Regions from separate parts of the Homo sapiens genome. Here regions 1 and 2 are each linked to region 3. Evidence: promoter capture Hi-C in 16 types of primary human blood cells and fetal thymus (Javierre and others, 2016). All regions are on one chromosome and are shown on one strand. The core of a region is centred on a gene start or on the middle of the fragment in contact, and the rest is flanking DNA. Distances in the headings are between cores, read along the strand shown.

Region 1 (3,162 bases), core at 463-2,962, 200 kb before region 3:
TAAAACTAGCTTAATTAAAATGTACTTTATCCACTTATTTTCAGAGACAGGATACAGCTAGAATTAACAGAGTTCCTACATTATTCCAGGTTTTATGCTAGATATTTCCATATATGTTATGTCATTTTCATTATTACAACCATGAAAGACACTATCTCTATTTTACTGAAGAGAAAATGGCATCTAGAGGACAATGGCTTATCCAAGGCTACCCAGCCAAGGTCAGTAGTGTACCTGACACTTGACTTCAAGTTCAGTGACCTTTGAACTTTGCTAAACCATGAGATCCTCATGTCTCCTGAAACAGAATTGCCAGAGGTAGCCTCACTTTAAAAACCCATTTGTCATAAACTGACCATAACTTTAAAACTTCCTGAAAAAAGGTACTTTTGAAATTACACCGGATGCTTATTTTGTTTTATGTGAAAGTTAATTTTTTGTAAATTTTATGGACAAGTATTCAGAATTTGCATTCAAAGTAACAACTGTTATCCAGAGGTCTCACAGTGAGGCAGAAGATCCTTGGAAAAAATATTCTGTGGGGAATCCATATTACGCAGCAACATAAGTTAAACACTTAGCACTCAATTGACATTAAGAAGCTAAACTGAGCTAAATTAACTATTTTTTTGTATTACAGGAATCTGACTTGGAAGAAGAAAACATTTTCCCCACCGTGAAAGAAAACACTGCCCAGCTAGCACAAAAACCACTGCCACCTGGCTGGCCCAGGTGAACCACCCTTGCATTCCAGAGGCAAGGCAGACTCTCTTCTTCTTGACCGTACTTATTCAGGAAATATTTACTGAGATCCATATGTGCCAGAAAACACTAAGGAAATAAACTTCTTGCCCACAAGGAGGTCACGACACTGAGGAAAGAATATCAAGCTTCACGGCCAGAAGGGTCTGAGAAAAAGCCTATCAATTCCCCATGTTCCCCTGAGGAAACATTGTCAAAGCCACAAATGTCCCACCAGGAGCCAGTGAACAGCAGAGCTGTGAAAACCAATTCATCTTCAAATAATCTAAAATCTTGATTTCCCCCATCCTGAATAATAACTATTGCAGAGCATTGTAAAACTATGACAACTATAGTCCGTACTATTTTAAAACTGTGGGTGGGAGGAAGGAGACATCGTAGAATTGTGAGAACTAATGACACACACATCATGAGATGTACCTCAAAGAAAAAGGCTGACAACTCCTGAGATAGAAATAAAGTTGCCTCTAAAATCACAAGATATTAGAGTAGAAATACCACAAAAAGTGACAGTGACAGTACTATGAAGATAAGCATGTAGAACCAGAGGCAAAATTCAGCTCTAACATCAGGATGCCATGAAGGGGTGTGTCAAGCCACCCCAAAAGACTGAAAAGGGACTTGCCCAGTGTGGGGAGCCTGGGGGGATCCCCACAAAGCATGGTACCTCCTTCTTCTCATTATTTACCAGCAGTATCTCCTTAGCCACTAGACTGATGCTCTGGGGAAGAGGAAGCAGCACAGGGCCTAGCACACAGGCCACAATAACAAGGCTGATGCTTAGTGTCTGGATGGAACAAACTGTCCACATTCATTTTTTAAGGTTTCCCATGTATGCCTCAAAATAATAAGCAAATGTAGAAAGAATCCAGAAGAGAGGAAAATTCAAAATCTGTCTGAACGTGCCTCTGCCATACACAACTACTCTGTGATATTATAGGCTCTATAAACAATTTATTTCCACCTGATGCTTCACTTCTGGAAACTCCACAGATTCTAAAAACTTGGGGCTTTCCTAGGTAAACTTAACCCTTCCAAGATTACTTTATTTCAGTGCTTAATATATTTTAAAACAGTACAAATCTTTTATGTGATGCAAAAGTAGAGATTTCTTCCGTGGAGGAGATGCAGAGGCCCCAGAAGGACACAAAACAACTGGAAGAGATATTTTTACATGTTCTCAACACAAAGAAATGATAAATGTATGAGGTGATGAGTATGCTAACTATCCTGATTTGATCATTATACAACACAGACGTATATCAAAAAATCAAACTGTACCCCATCAATATATGCAATACAATGTGTCAATTAAAAACTATTTTTTTAAAAAGGTAGGAGGGAGATACTCTCCAGAATGCTAATTTGAATTCTTACAGCAAAAGGCAGCATTTAAATGTTTCACTGTTCTTTTATAAATCGGTAATGCAGAAGCCCAAGGTATGGTGGAAAGGCCCAGGGCATGGGCTTGAGTCAGACCACCTACAAATGAACAGTATCATTTATTTACCAGCCTCCAGTTCCCTGGAGCAGCCAGGCCTGTCTTGGCCTTGGAGAGAAAGAAAAATTCCACCAAGCCAGCTAGCACTGTACCAGTAAGGGGAGCGCTGTCTCAGTGGCCTTGAGCTTTTGGAATCAATTTTCTAAGAACTTTTCAGTTTACTTCTGCTTAATTAAGGACAAAAATCATAGATTCTCAAACAGAGAAAATAATCAGAGACATTTAAGGCCTGTGACCAAAGTATTTGTGTTTAAGCACAATTTCCTGAAATAAAGCTTATGAGAACAAGTATAACAAAGAAAACTAGTTAGACTTTATTTTGACAATAGTTTTCTAATGCCTCAACTTTATATGGGGAGTAGTCATCTTTATAGAGAAGAAATAGGTATACACTGGACCTATTTATAAAACAAAACAAACATATTTAAATACTTAAGAAAGATAATGGTAACTGCTAGATTAATTCAGAAATGACTGTTACATACAACCTGATTTACCAAGAGCAGTTTTTAAATTGAATTTCAGTCTTTATAAAAATTTAAGCTGAATTTCAGTCTTCAGAAAATACTGATGAGACATGTGATTCCCAAAAAATCATGGTGGCTGCTTAGATAAATATATCCACACATCCTCCAAAAACCTTATAGATCAACAAAAAGCATACACAACCACCCATAATCCGTGCCTACAGCAAAAGGAGGCAGTATTCAGCAAGCCTCCATTAAATATAATTTAGGAAATAAAAAATCCAAAACTACCAGAGCTAGCAACACTGCCTCTGCTGCCAGTCAGAGGGGCGTCTGTCGACAGGAGAGGGGAGTTTAACCTGGCAATCATTGTCCAGGGAAGAACTCTCAGCAAGGAAGTGCCCTACCAGGGTGGGCAAACACCCCAGACCA
Region 2 (3,232 bases), core at 451-2,950, 240 kb before region 3:
GTGTGGGAAGCTGGCTCCTGTTCAGGAAATATAATTAAAAGTACAATCTCCCAACCCTCTTCAGAAAGGTAGTGGAGAAAGAAAACACTTTGTAATTGAATAAGCATTAAACTAGAATGTGATACCCATCACAGGCAATCCATTAAGAGACTGCAAAGACAGAACGAAATCTCACTCTTTTGTGCAGCCAAGCAATCTATTACACACATTTTCAAGATAAACAATAACTAGCTCTCAAGGGAACTTGGCAGCATTTTTCATCACACACAGTTCATCTAACCTGATATTTGGGATGATCCTCTGTGTTAGCCAATTGGCTTTATCTAGAGGAAAAAGAAACTTGTATCTTTATGATATGAGATAATTTTGTAAGTTGGAGCAAAGGGCCCACTGAAGTTAGGCTCCTACTCCCCCATTAAAACTGGGAGACAGGGGCATTAACTCCCTTGATACTTAAAGAGATGGCTCCTAGGTCCTAGAAAAAGACATATCTAGGTTATAAAGCGCACAAAAAGGCCTAACTAGTCTTCAAAAGGATTTATATATTTCAAAGAGAGGAAAAAGTACTTACACTAATTACCAATTTTCTAAAAGTAAATGTTCGAAGAAAAAGGGAGGGAAATCTCATATTTTCAACAGGAAGTAGTAAACCTTATTTTAAATTTGTATTTGTCCTGACAGTCCCCAAACATTACAAACTCAACGTGTCGGTAAGACAAGGCTGAGTTAACTGCTGGCCACAGTAAGGGACAGCATGACCTGGCAAAGCTTTACCAATGGCTGGGAGCAAAAGGCAAGGTCAGTTTATTGAGAACTGGAAGTCTGACTCAAGGAAGGTGTTTCAAAGCGGGCTTTAGTTAGTATTGAGCAAGAATTGGTGGAAACAGCAAGATTTCGAGGAGTCAGCGAATCTTAGGGAATCAATTGTGCTTTCCCCGAAGAGTGGATGGGTCTCTGGGGAAGTTCTGTAGTGAACAAAGCTTTCGCCCGAATGGGAACTCCTGGAAATAAAGCCCTGCAGTAAAGACGGCAGGGTGCGGTCCCGGCTCCTGGCGCGCCGAGCCCCCCAGCAGGGCGGGGGCACCGCGGAAGAAGCGCCCCAGAGGAGAGCGCCGCGCCGAGCCCCGCCTGGCGCCAGTTCTCCAGCGCCCGTGGAGGCATCTGCGCCCCTAGTAGCCAAGGTGAGTACCAGCTCCAAGCCCGGCTTTCCGCGAGGTCCCTCGCGTGGCCACCGTGCCCTAAGGGTGCGCTCGGCCTCGGGGACGTGAGCAGCTCTTAGTGGGAAGCCAGCTGCAGGCCCTGACCGCAGGCTGCTGGGGCCCGGAAGCGCTGGCGCCTTGCGGCCAGAAGCCCGGAATGGACGCGAAAGTGACCACGCGAATCTGACGCTCACGTGACTTTTCGCGACTGGCCCCGCCCCCCTGTGGCGTGCCGCAGCGCAGACGTCGCTGTCTCCTGCGCAGGCGCAGGCCTTGGCTCGCGGCGGGTGACGCAATGCGGCGGGTGACGCAATCCGGCGTCGCCAGTCAGTCGCGCGGCCAGATCAGGTAACTGCCCGAACCGCTCCGCCGCCCGACGTGTGGCTCAGCCCCTTCCTCAGCCCCGCCAGGGGCGGGGCCGGCCGCGGGAGGGGAGGGGCCTGCAGCGACCAATCGGCGGTGCCCGCGCAGGGTGCTACGCCACGCCCAGCCGGGCCGGCCGTTCCTACCGGCCTGGTCCAGCGGACAGCGGCTGCAGCGGGGGCGCCGGCTGGGAGGTGAGTGCGCGGCCCGTAGGCCTGGCTCCGGCCCCTCGCCGCCCGCCGCCGCCTCTTTGTCCGCGCGCCCCGGCTGCTCTGTGGACCTGCGCGTCTCGGGGATGCGGGAGCGGGGGCAGGGGGCGGCCCGAGGGCCTGATCCACGCGGCCCCGGATGCCCGCGTCGGGAGGCGGCGCGTCGGGCCGAGGAGGGGCTTCTCTGTGGCTGCAGTAGTTTGTTCTCTGGGTCGTCTTTGGAGTGGCCGAGCGGCGTCCGGGCGCTGGGGCGGCCAAGTGGCGCGGGAAGGGTGGGAGGTGCCGTGAGGGCGGCGAGGACAGCGGCGGATTTAAGCCCCACTGGAAACCCCGGCCCTTGTGGCCGTGGACTGGGCTGCGGGTAGCAGCGTCTCCTGGAAGGGCTCTGGCCCCGTGAGCCTCGGGGATTCAGGGGCCGCCGACGTTGGTGCAGATGCCGGGCGCACTGGGAGGCGGCCGGAATGCCAATGAGATTCGGCGGATACGCAGCTGTCACCGGCCGCAGACTGCCCTGTCGCCACCTCCAGTGCCTGCACTCCAGTAGCCAAGCAACATAGGAAATCGCGCTCAGAACCCACTTTGTTGATTGAGAAATCAGGTCTCCTCGAGGGCCCTGTTGGCAGAGGTCTGGGGAAGTCAGGGCATCAGGCTGAGAGAGCCCTCTGCAGTCTTGTTTCCCCAGGCTGGGGCTGGGACCACTGAAACCCCAGTGGCTCTATAAGAGCCCCACTCTTATAGATCCCTTCCTTAGGCTTTGTCAGTGTTCTCACAGTTTTACTGGGGCGTCTCCTTCAGGCGACATTGATCAAGCCTCATAGGTACCTGTTTACAGCGGAACTCCCAGAGGGCAGTCTTTTCCATGTTTGAGGGACTGCTAGTTGTGGGGAGCGGTCTCATTGATGAGACTGGAGAAGGGGAGAGGGGTGGGACTAGTTTATCAGGGAAGATGATGACAACTTTTTTTCTAGACACGTTGAATCCGAGGTGACATCTGTGGTCTGGCCGAAGGAGGCTAGAAGGAAGGCATGTGCTTTGGATGGATGGAAACAGGAATCAAAGAGGAAGGTAGATTCAGGAGCTGAAGGGCAGGGAGAAAACACATTCAGGGAGTTTGTGGCAAAGCAGCAGAAATGACGATGGGGTGACGGTATCTGGAGGCCTTAGGTGGGGTTGGTGAAATTTGCATGCCCGCTGCAGTGGAAAGATTTAGGGGCTAAAGATAGCCCTTTGCCTTTGGCAAGGCTGAGGGGAAGAGTGTGTTGAGTAGTCTGAGTTGAATCCGGGCACCAGGCCCTGGCTCATGTCCCAACCAGCCATTGACTGTTACCTTGATAGGTCCTCATCTATGAAATGGGGATCACTGTAGCACCTTGGCCTATGTGTGGGAAACCAATAAACTAGCCAACAAGTTTCAGGCTCATGGAACCCTGGTAACAGCCGGTCAGCCTTCTTCAGAGGAGG
Region 3 (3,044 bases), core at 358-2,857:
CTTCCCACTCCATTCTATTTAATTCCACTCCATAGCCTCCCTCTCACCCATCTATTCTTCCCAGCCCCCAAACTGATGCTGGGATTGCCATATCCAGGAAGCCATGTGGAAAGCTTTTAGGACTTACTGTCATTTAGGACTTATAGACCATAGTAAGGAGCTTAGATTTTATTCTAACGGTATTAAGAATGGAGGCTTACACTGAGGTCTTGGAGAATCAAGCAAAGCACTGGGAAAGCAGAAGCATGAGGCCTGGCCAATCTCAATCTCTGAGACTTCCAAGGTTCCAGCATGAATATTAGCAGCCACCATTACTGGACCAGATGCCCCTCTGAGGGTTGCATCAGGCTTTTAATTCTCCTGAGAGGAGGCAGCAAATGAGCAAGGAGGAAAATTCCTCTGTACCAGCATTGGAATCCTGAGGATGGCAGTGAGGAATCCACCCCAGGAGGCAGAGAACCAGCCAGAGCCTTGCACAGAGTCTTTCCAGAGCTTAAGCTCTGTGCGGTACTAGAGTCCCTCTGCCTTTCTTTCAGGCTCTTGGTGCTGAGAAAGGAAGAGCAATGCTCCTTCTCTCTCTAAACCAGAAGTTCTCCACTAGGAGGGCATTTTAATTGTTCATGCCTGAAGCCCAGATGAACTGTGCATTCCTGACCACATTTAATGATTTCATCAAAAAGGCAAGCATTTTAGGATAAAGGTCCATTGAGGAAGAGTGTAAATTGGCCTTCAGTTCATTAAGTGCAGACAGAGCAAGGAGCCCAGAGAAGGTGGAGATCAGAGAACTAACCTTTCACGGTGGCCTCTCAGGGCTGATGGTGTTCTTTATTGCCCTCGAATTCTCACTGTTCTCTCTCTGTCTGCCTGTCTCTCTCTCTCTCTGTCTCTCTCTCTCTGTCTGTCTGTCTCTCTCTGTCTCTCTCTCTCTCTCCCTCTGTGTGTCCTTGCTTTTCCATTTTCATTTTATGACCTGGAAATGTTTATCAGTCTCTTTGGTTATTTTCTCTTCTTGTCAGCTTCATCTCCTTAGAAGTCCTTATTTTGAAGTCACTCTTCAGTTATACAATGTCTTAAAAATCATGAAGATTGAAAAATATATTTTGCATGTGAATAGACATTTACCTAATTTAAAAAAAATTTTAAGTTCAATGTTTTCCAAAACTAAAACTACCGTAATTGGTTGTGGACTACCTGACTATGGACTGCTGATGGTGAACCAAGTCTCCTAGACTAGACATCTTGGTCCCTCACTTAGGGGCAGATGGAGAAGGACAGGCCAGAAGAGGATGTGGTCACCAACCTTTCTGTCCATGCTATCCTCCCTCCATGAACTCAGGACGCGCAACAGCCTGTAGGCATGCTCCTCCTTGCTCTGCACGTTGAAAGTGTTCAAGGCAAACTCCACTGTGGCGAGGAACATAGGATCCTGGACTATTTTATTATTACCACCCATTTCCTCTTCAGAACACCAGGCATAAGTCACCAGGAGCTGGAAGCCCATGAGAAGCAGTGACAGTGCCCAGGGCATAGCCTTCCTCCTCTGCGGACTCGACATGATGCAGGCTCCAGCAGCCCTTGCCTTTGCCCTTCAGATCCCTGGCGTCCACTGGAGCCTTCCAGGGCTCAGGTCTGGCCTTTAAATTCACCTGCTGGGGCAGAAACTCCTCCCTCCAGGCCTCACCTCTGCAGTTACACCCTGTCTCTCCCACACATGGCCTCCCTTCTTCCAAAGGCGTTTAAATCATCTCCTGTTTAGGGGAGAGGAACAGCACCCAGGCAGGTGGGTTGGAAAAGACTAGCAATGGGAGAGATAGTGCCCTGAACATGAGGCCCAGCCCCAGCTGCCCCAGCACCTCCGCAGGCTAAAGGAGACCTCTACTGGGCGCCCCAGAGTCAGAGCCCGGCACAGGAACACAAGTGTGAGAGGTATGAGTGGAAGGTGAGCCCTGGACTCAGCAGTGGGGGTGGGCTGGGAGGGGGAGGTTAGGTGGAAAGGCAGAGACAAAAGGATGGAAAGGGATGACAGTGGATGCTAGTATCATGGGTGAGCAGGTACAGCGCCCCGAGAAAGCACTGGGCCTCTTGAGAGAGAGGCGGGGAGCCCGGGAGGATTGGCGGGATGTCCTGCAGGTGTCTGCTCCCCCGAGGGTCTCGGGAGGGGGGCACCAGCCTGGGGGTCGTGGGCAGAGGTTGAGGAAATCAAGAGCAGGAGCCCCCAACCCTGTTCTCTGCACCTCCCTAAATGCAGCTTCCCAGCCCAGGGACGCGCTGCCAAGTGCTGGTACTAGGGGCCTGGCTAGTTATGGCTGCCCCTATTCCTCAAAGGTGTTTCCAGGACGGGTGGCCGCTTGCAATTGGAGCAGTGGAGAACCAGAAAGACGAAGATGCCCTCAGGGATGGCTGAAGTGCACCCATTAGGTTGTCACGGGTTCCCTCCTGTGGCCACAGCCGGCACAGCACTCTGCGGCACAGTTTGTGGGTGGAGATTCTGAGTTCTCGACCAAGACCCACATAGCCTCCAACTCCAACCGCAAATGGGGCTCTCAAAAGACTGAATAATGCACTCTTCACAGACCAGACTTAAGCTTTGTCCCTGTGAAATATGCCTTTGATGTTTATCCGTAGCTCCTTGTAAACTTCAGAAGCAACCAGCATCCCCTGATGTCACGTTAAAAAGCAAGTTCCTAGTTTCCCCACCCAAAGATTCTGACCCAGTAGCTGTGAGCAGGGCCAGGGAAACTACATTTCTCACCAGCTTCCAGAGGATGGTTGTGTTCCCGGTCTCAGAACCATACTTTGAGTGGTGCAGGTTCAGAATACTTCCTGGGAAGTGCATACAGACCAAACCACATATGAGAAGTAACTCAGCTTGAGGGGCATGGAGGTCAGGGGATGAGAATGGCTTTTGTGGGGCACACAGGATGGGGGACAGGCTTAGACAGCATGCCTGGTGATAAAGAATAAGAGTTTGTTTCTAGACCCTGTTTGCAAAGAAAAAGCAACTCAATGTGACAATTCCAGGAAAGCAGCCAGATGTGCCAAAA

What was found. Contacts are between HindIII fragments. The CHiCAGO score rates a contact against its expected background, and 5 or more counts as called.
Region 1: a contact is called between a fragment that was not itself captured here and the fragment with the promoter of CST9 in region 3, in 2 of 17 cell types (M0 macrophages and fetal thymus). The highest score is 5.5, in M0 macrophages.
Region 2: the fragment with the promoter of GZF1 here is called in contact with the fragment with the promoter of CST9 in region 3 in 16 of 17 cell types (M1 macrophages, M2 macrophages, fetal thymus and 13 more); the score reaches 30.2 in M1 macrophages.

Annotation. Positions count from the first base shown.
Region 1 is chr20:23,406,827-23,409,988 of GRCh38, forward strand. All of the region lies in intron 1 of NAPB (NSF attachment protein beta), which reads right to left. Among named protein-coding and RNA genes, the nearest start is that of NAPB, 13 kb to the right of the region's middle. RefSeq lists enhancers at 1,322-1,381, 1,522-1,581. The HindIII fragment of the contact is 1,648 bases long and covers 889-2,536 here.
Region 2 is chr20:23,360,482-23,363,713 of GRCh38, forward strand. It overlaps GZF1 (GDNF inducible zinc finger protein 1), which reads left to right and starts at 1,701. Exons shown (of 6, transcript NM_022482.5): 1 at 1,701-1,756. RefSeq lists silencers at 987-1,076, 1,497-1,986 and an enhancer at 1,167-1,426. The HindIII fragment of the contact is 6,657 bases long and covers 979-3,232 here.
Region 3 is chr20:23,604,310-23,607,353 of GRCh38, forward strand. CST9 (cystatin 9) reads right to left here and starts at 1,608. Exons shown (of 2, transcript NM_001008693.3): 1 at 1,301-1,608. The coding sequence starts at 1,555. The HindIII fragment of the contact is 2,472 bases long and covers 112-2,583 here.